Regions from separate parts of the Homo sapiens genome. Here region 2 is linked to region 1. Evidence: promoter capture Hi-C in 16 types of primary human blood cells and fetal thymus (Javierre and others, 2016). All regions are on one chromosome and are shown on one strand. The core of a region is centred on a gene start or on the middle of the fragment in contact, and the rest is flanking DNA. Distances in the headings are between cores, read along the strand shown.

Region 1 (3,623 bases), core at 945-3,444:
AGCTCAGGTAATCCTCCCACCTCAGCCTCCTGAGTAGCTGGGACCACAGGCCCACTCCACCACGCCTGGTTAATTTTTGTATTTTTGTAGAGACGGGGTTTCACCACTCCGGCCAGGCTGGTCTGGAACTCTTGACCTCAAGTGATCTGCCTGCCTCTGCTTCCCAAAGTGTGCAGATTACAGGATTGAGCCACCGCGCCCTGCCCAGTGTTCTTGTAAAACCCCATTCTGCATTTAGATTAAATATGGTACCTTATTGTTGCAATATGGCCCACTAATGTTCTTTGCCTCCTTCTAGCCTCCTCCCATTAATTCCCCCCTCTTAAATGTTTGCCTTTATTTAGATTTAATTATTGTTGCTCAAAATCTTAATTAAAAAAATGTGAAAACACTTTAATGTCTGAAGTTCTTCGATTTTTTTTTTTTTTTTTTTTTTGAGACAGAGTCTGGCTCTTGTTGCCCAGGCTAGAGTGCACTGGCGCGATCTCGGCTCACTGCAACTTCTGCCTCCCGAGTTCAAGCGATTCTCCTGCCTCAGCCTCCCAAGTAGCTGGGATTACAGGCACCCGCCACCACACCCGGCTATTTTTTTGTATTTTTCTTAGTGGATACGGGGTTTCATCATGTTGGCCAGGCTGGTCTCAAACTCCCGACCTCAAGTGATCCACCCGCCTGGGCCTCCCAAAGTGCTGGGATTACAGGCATGAACCACCGCGCCTTGCGGAAGTTCTTCGATTTTTTTTTTTTTTTTTGGAAAGGGAATCTCTCTCTGTCTCCCACGCTGGAGTGCAGTGGCACACTCTCGGCTCACTGCAACCTCCGCCTCCCAGATTCAAGCCATTCTCCTGCCTCAGCCTCCCAAGTAGCTGGGATTACAGGAGCCTGCCACCACGCCCGGCTAATTTTTTTATTTTTAGTAGAGACGGGTTTCACCATATTGGCCAGACTGATCTCGAACTCCTGACTTCAAGTGATCCATCCACCTGCCTCGGTCTCCCAAAGTGCTGGGATTACAGGTGAGAACCACCGCGCCTGGCCTAGTTCTTCGATTTTTTAACATCCATCACAGTAACTTAAATTATATAAAGTAACTACCCCTGAGGAGCCCGGGGTAGTTGAAGGCCCTCCAGCGCCTTCGGTGTTCTGTCGCAGTGCTCTACGTGTGAAACCGCTTTCTCCCACCCTGGCCGTGCGCTGGTGATGGTGGCAGCGGCGCTCCAGCGACGCCCGGGGAAGTGTCCCCAGGGTCGGGCAAGGTCGCTTCTGCTGGTCGGGAGGCCCTTTCTAAGCCTGGCTGGGGCTAACCGAAGGAGAAGCCCGCCGCTCCAGGCTTTATTAAAAATTCGCATTCTTTCCAAGGCCGCCATCGGTGGGAAGGGTGCGCTCGTAGCACCCCTCTTGCTCGGTTCCATTCCTGGCCTTCTGTCTCCTGGAAGGGTCGCCGCGCCCCACCCCACCCGCTTCGCCACGGGTTCGAGCCCTGGCGTCGGGGCGTCCGGGAGCCCACTGTCCAGCACCGAAGGCAAGGCCGGTGCACGCGGACCCGAGGATTCGGTAGATGTCCCCGAAGACCCGCTGCCGCTCTAAGGCGGTGGAAGCGAGATTCTCCGGAAACCCAGGGAATCCGATGCTCGCACAGGACCAAAGCCCGAGGCCGCGGGGACCACAGAGGGACGGAGAAGCCGGGACTCCTCACATCCCACATCCGGCAGGGGAAGCCCAGCAGGTGAGCGCAGGTCCCCCCAGTCCCCGAGGGAGTGCGCCCGACGGAAACGCCCCTAGCCCGCGGGCCTCGCTTTCCTCTCCCGGGTTCCTGGGTCACTTCCCGCTGTCTCCAGCCCGAGCTCGTGGCCCCAATCCCTGGTACCTCCATCCTCTGGTCACCCCTTCTCTGGTGCCCCCTCCCCGACTTTTCTTTGTCCCGTCCCCACCCTTGCCCGGGCCTGCCGGACCCCCCTCCTTGACACCCGGCGCCACCTCCTTGAGCTTTTCTCGTCTCCTCCCCATCCCCGGCTCCCTGGTCCCCTCCCGGAACTTCTCTGGTCCCCTCCGCTCCTCCGACCCGGGCTTTTCCTTCGTACCCTGCGGCCCCCTCCGCACCCCTCACGGAGCTCCTCGGGTCCTGCCCCCTCCCAGCGCTTGCCCGCGCCGCCCCGCCCCCGTTTTTAAACCTGGCGCGCGGGTAGGTGAGCGCGTTAGCCCGAGTGGATCTAGGCGCGCTCGTAGGCCGGCGCCGCAGCAAGGGGCGCGGGCTCCGCCGGCACCATGGAGCCCGAAGCGGCGGCCGGAGCCCGGAAGGCGCGGGGGCGCGGCTGTCACTGCCCCGGGGACGCTCCCTGGAGGCCTCCGCCACCGCGCGGGCCGGAGAGGTGAGGGTGGCCCCGCGCCCCGGTGGACGCGCTGAGAGGCGTGCGCGGTGGCGGTGCGGGGAGCGCAGCGAGCGGGAGGCTGGGGCGCTGCTGAACCCCCGATCCCCAGCGGAGCTCCGGAGCTCGACGGCGACGCCAAGCAAGCTCCTGAGCCGGCAGCCGGGTTCCCGGGAGGGGCGCTCAGTTCTCCGGTTCCAACGCACAGCTCTGAAGTGCGGAGGCCCAGGATGTAGCTGGCCAGGAAAGGGGCCGACGCTTCCGTGTAGAGGAGATCTCAGTTAGCCAGCCGGGGACACTGCAGTCTCGGGCTCCTAAGCCAGCCTTGCAAAGGCAATCTCTCACCTTGCTACTTTCTCGGTAGCCGTTTCTGTTGTCCCTGGATTGGGGGCTCGGCGTTCGCTGTCCCTGGGCACCAACCCTTTTAAAGACAGTAACGTTGTAGGAAATCAAATTAGCCAGGGAGGTAGGGAAGGGACCGGGTAGGCCGGATGGGCCAGGTAGCCAGGCAGGAGAAAGATTCCCTCTTTTTTTTTTTTTTTTTTTTTTTTTTGAGACAGGGTCTCACTGTGTCGCCCAGGCTGGAGTGCAATGGCGTGATCTCGGCTCACGGGAACCTCCGCCTCCCGGGTTCAAGCGATTTTCCTGCCTCAGCCTCCTGAGTAGCAGGGATTACACGCGCCTGCCACCACGCCCGGCTAATTTTTGTATTTTTAGTAGAGACTGGGTTTCGCCATGTTGGCCAGGCTGGTCTCGAACTCCTGACCTCGAGTGATCCAGTAACCTCAGCCTCCCAAAGTGCTGGGATTACAGGTGTGAGCCACCGCGCCCAGCCCCCTTTTTTTGTTTGTTTGTTTTTCATCCTACAACTCTGTAAAATCATCTCTGTAGAATCAATCTCCTTCCGTGACCAAGGTGGTGTGATTGAAATTAACCGGGGACAAAGTAGACAGCTATAGTTGGGGAACCCCGAATTGAACAATTCAGCCAGGATTTGCAGGGAGAGAAATCTCTCAACTAATGGGTTCCCTGATAATTGTGTGAGATTCGGGACCTCCCTTCTCAAAGCTTAACTGGAGACAGAGAACTGGGGACGTAGCAGGAGAGAAAAAACACAAATGACAGTAATTTATCCACAGCCCTGAGAACTCCAGGGAAAGTTCCTGGGGGGTCCGGTGCCTCTTTTTCAGGCAGACACTGGAACTAAGAATAGCTCTCATGGCATAGTTTGAAGGCAGCAGAAGTGCCCAGGGTTCA
Region 2 (3,556 bases), core at 534-3,033, 420 kb before region 1:
AAATACCCTATTTCCAAATGAAGTCACATTCTGAGGTCCCAGGTGGGCATGAATTTTGAGGTGGGGGGGATGCAATTCACACAAGCGTCATCACTTAAGGGTAATGAAGGCCAGAACTTTTGACTTTCTTGGTATAACCAACTTTAATTACAATATCCTGAGTTTTTTCCCCCCAAAGTCACTCTGAAATGACCATCTACCCTTTTCCATTCCATAAACTTAGTCTAATACAGACAGAGCTCAGCTTTCAAATAGAGGAGTTTTCCTGAGCTGCTGCAGGTAAGGGCGCCTGTTTGCAGTGTCTGTTGGCCAGGCCAGGTTGGGGGTGCCCATGGGAAGAAGGAAACCCACAGGATCCCATCCAGGGGAGGGAGCTCATTAGCATAACCCCTGGCTTGCTCTGCCCATCATGCACGTCTAGCATCCTGATTGGTAGGTTTGAAAGGAGACCTGGGTCATGGGCAGTAAGAGGTCCTGCATCTCGATTTACTCTCAGGAGTGACTGGCACTTCCAGGGCTGGGCTCCTCCAAGGATGGGCTCATCCCTGTGGGGTGGAGTAGGGGTCTGTCCAGTTCCGCCACACCCACCCCACCCACCCCCCACGCCCACCCCACCCACCCCCCACGCCCACCCCACCCACCCCCCACGCCAAAATTGGACTTCTGTATTAGGGAGCTTATTTGCCCAAAGATATAAGCCACATTCTCCAACCTAGACTGTCAGTTATAAACGTAGTCTTTGGGCTGGAATAAAGGCAGTCTTTGGGCCAGGCACAGTGGTTCACATCTGTAATCCCAGCACTTTGGGAGGCCAAGGCGGATGGATCTCCTGAGGTCAGGAGTTCAAGACCAGCCTGGCCAACATGGTGAAATCCCGTTTCTACTAAAAATACAAAAATTAGCCAGGTATGGTGGTGGGCACTTGTAATCCCAGCTACTCAGGAGGCTGAGGCAGGAGAATTGCTTGAATTCGGGAGGCGGAGGTTGCAGTGAGCCAGGATCACACCACTGCACTCCAGCCTGGGCGACAGAGCCAGACTCCATCTCAAAAACAACAACAACAACAAAAACGGTCTTTGCGACTCCATTGGCCTCATGCCTTTTTTCACCTTTCATTTGGTTCAGAATTTGGGCAGGAAGAGTGTGCCATTTACCAGACACCCCCAATACCTTGGCAACACACAGGGCTCACTTTGAACACCAATTAACTTCTCAACAGTTCACACACAATCCATGCATGGGAGCCTTATTCCCTTAATACGCCAAAAAATATACCTGAAGCTAAAAATATACCAACCCAAGGCAAGCTTGAACTTTCCATAAAAGGCCATTAAGAGAATTGATTTCATCTCCGGGATTATTGCCCTGTGACAGCTGGTATGCATTCCAAATACAGCAACAAAAGAGAAGGCCACGCTGTAGAAAGGAGTTTAAGTGGAAACCTTCCATACACCAAAATCTCAAAGGAGAGGAAGTTGCTTGCCACCCCCTTGGTTACAGTTCATAGTCATAAAGGCTGTTTCTATAGAATAGACTTCCACGATTATCTATTTGCAAAAATGTACAAACACAGCCAGCATACTCTGTGCCTGTAGAAAGACCTGGATCAATACAAGTAACAGAAGAATGAAGAAAAGAGGAAAAAAAGATTTTATCAAGGCTGTTTACTTTAAGGGTACCTTAAAGACCTGCACAAACACACCTGCTACTTCAGTGCCAGGAAGAACAGAGCAAACATGGCTCTCCTTTAAAAGAAACTGGAGAAAGAGACTTTGCAGCCACAAAACCAGTCACACCAGGAGGCGCTAGCATCTCAGCAAGTGAAAGCATAGAAGCCTCATCTTCAGATCAAAGTTATTTAAAAGGAGCCCAGGATCACACTTCTGAATTAAGCCTACATCACATCGGGGACAGTAACATGTTGAGGAATGTTTAACCACAAACTGGATCACCAGAAGGGAAAAATCTCCTGATTCCTAGCATCTGCCCATTTCTGTGGTGTAAATACTCCCACAGTAGCTGATTTCAAGCTGCCAGCATTGGCAGAGATGTGAAACACCACACCATTGTATAGTATTTCCACCCTCCAGATACAATAGGTGCAAACAACTTCTAGAGCATAGGTACCAGTAAAATGTACTAACACAATCAGGAAGTAAAAAATGCTAAAACAATTAGGAAGTTGAATGTATTAAAACAACTAGGAAGTGATGAGTTTTGAGTATTTATTACTTTTGTGGTAATATAATTTATTTAATTGTAAGCTTATGATTTTAAATTTTTAAATAGTGACTCTTTTAGCTACCAGCTCACAAAATTCCGGCAAATTTTACAATTGGCTCAAGCTGGGGCAAGTCTCCTTCAACCTACCATGGTCTGGGGAGCGTTTTCAAAGTAACAAAGATCTTCCTTTCCCTACCTCAATTGCGGGAGGCCCATTGGGACAAAATGCCCCAGAGGCGACCACATGTGCATATTTTCTTTTCCTTCCTTCCTTCCTTCCTTCCTTCCTTCCTTCCTTCCTTCCTTCCTTCCTTCCTCCCTCCCTCTCTCTTTCTCTCTCTTTCTTTTTCTTTTTTTTCTCGCAGTTTCGCTCTTGTTGCCCAGGCTGGAGTGCAGTGGTGTGATCTTGGCTCACTGCAACCTCCACCTCCTGGGTTCAATCGTTTCTCCTGCCTTAGCCTCTCGAGTAGCTGGGATGACAGGTGCGCCACCATGTCCCGCTAATTTTTTGTATTTTTAGTAGAGACAGGGTTTCACCATGTTGGCCAGGCTGGTCTCGAACTCCTGATCTCAGGTGATCCACCTGCCTCGGCTTCCCAAAGTGCTGGGATTACAGGCGTGAGCCACCATGCCTGGCCATCATGCATATTTTCAAAAGCTCTCCAGTGCAATTCTAATGGACTCCCTGGGTGAGAACCACTGCTGTGTCCCACCCTTCCATGTTACAGAAAGGGAAGCTGAAGTTCAAAAGTTTAAATGTTCTCTCTGTTGGTTAACAGATGACCGAGCTGGAGAATGACTATTAGTTGGGTTCTTTCTCTTCCCCTAGACCTTCCCCCCAACAATTATGTGCAACTTTGGATCTCTTCTGGAAATACTGCACCTTATAAGCACCTTATTTGAAATATTGCAACTATATTAGCAGTATAGGCCATATACCAAAGCCTCATTACTTTAAAAGGAAAAAAAAAAGAGAGATGGGGGGGCAGTCCTACTGTGTTGCTCAGGCTGGTCTTGAACTCCTGGCCTCCGGCGATCCTCCTGCCTCAGCCTCCCGAATAACTGGGACATAGGTGCATTGCATTCAGCTTACTTTTGCATTACCTTAACAATAACCAAAATAAAGTTTACCATAATATCATTTATTTTTAAAAAGGGTTTAACAAGGAAATTCATAGGTAAGCCAAACTAGAAAGGAGACATCAACGTCCTCAAGAAACTTTAGAGACCAGCTTTCTCTCTGTTTGTATATAAACCATGTATATATTAATAACAAACCATTCTGATCTATATACTAAGAGAGGGTCAACTGAACTGGCAATGTTTAGTTAGT

What was found. Contacts are between HindIII fragments. The CHiCAGO score rates a contact against its expected background, and 5 or more counts as called.
Region 2: a contact is called between a fragment that was not itself captured here and the fragment with the promoter of RIPPLY3 in region 1, in 1 of 17 cell types (naive CD4 T cells). The highest score is 6.5, in naive CD4 T cells.

The regions. Positions count from the first base shown.
Region 1 is chr21:37,004,508-37,008,130 of GRCh38, forward strand. RIPPLY3 (ripply transcriptional repressor 3) reads left to right here and starts at 2,195. Exons shown (of 4, transcript NM_018962.3): 1 at 2,195-2,369. The coding sequence starts at 2,266. RefSeq lists an enhancer at 1,536-2,036 and a silencer at 2,260-2,369. The HindIII fragment of the contact is 8,716 bases long and covers 1-3,432 here.
Region 2 is chr21:36,583,380-36,586,935 of GRCh38, forward strand. No RefSeq gene overlaps it. Among named protein-coding and RNA genes, the nearest start is that of CLDN14, 110 kb to the left of the region's middle. The HindIII fragment of the contact is 957 bases long and covers 1,306-2,262 here.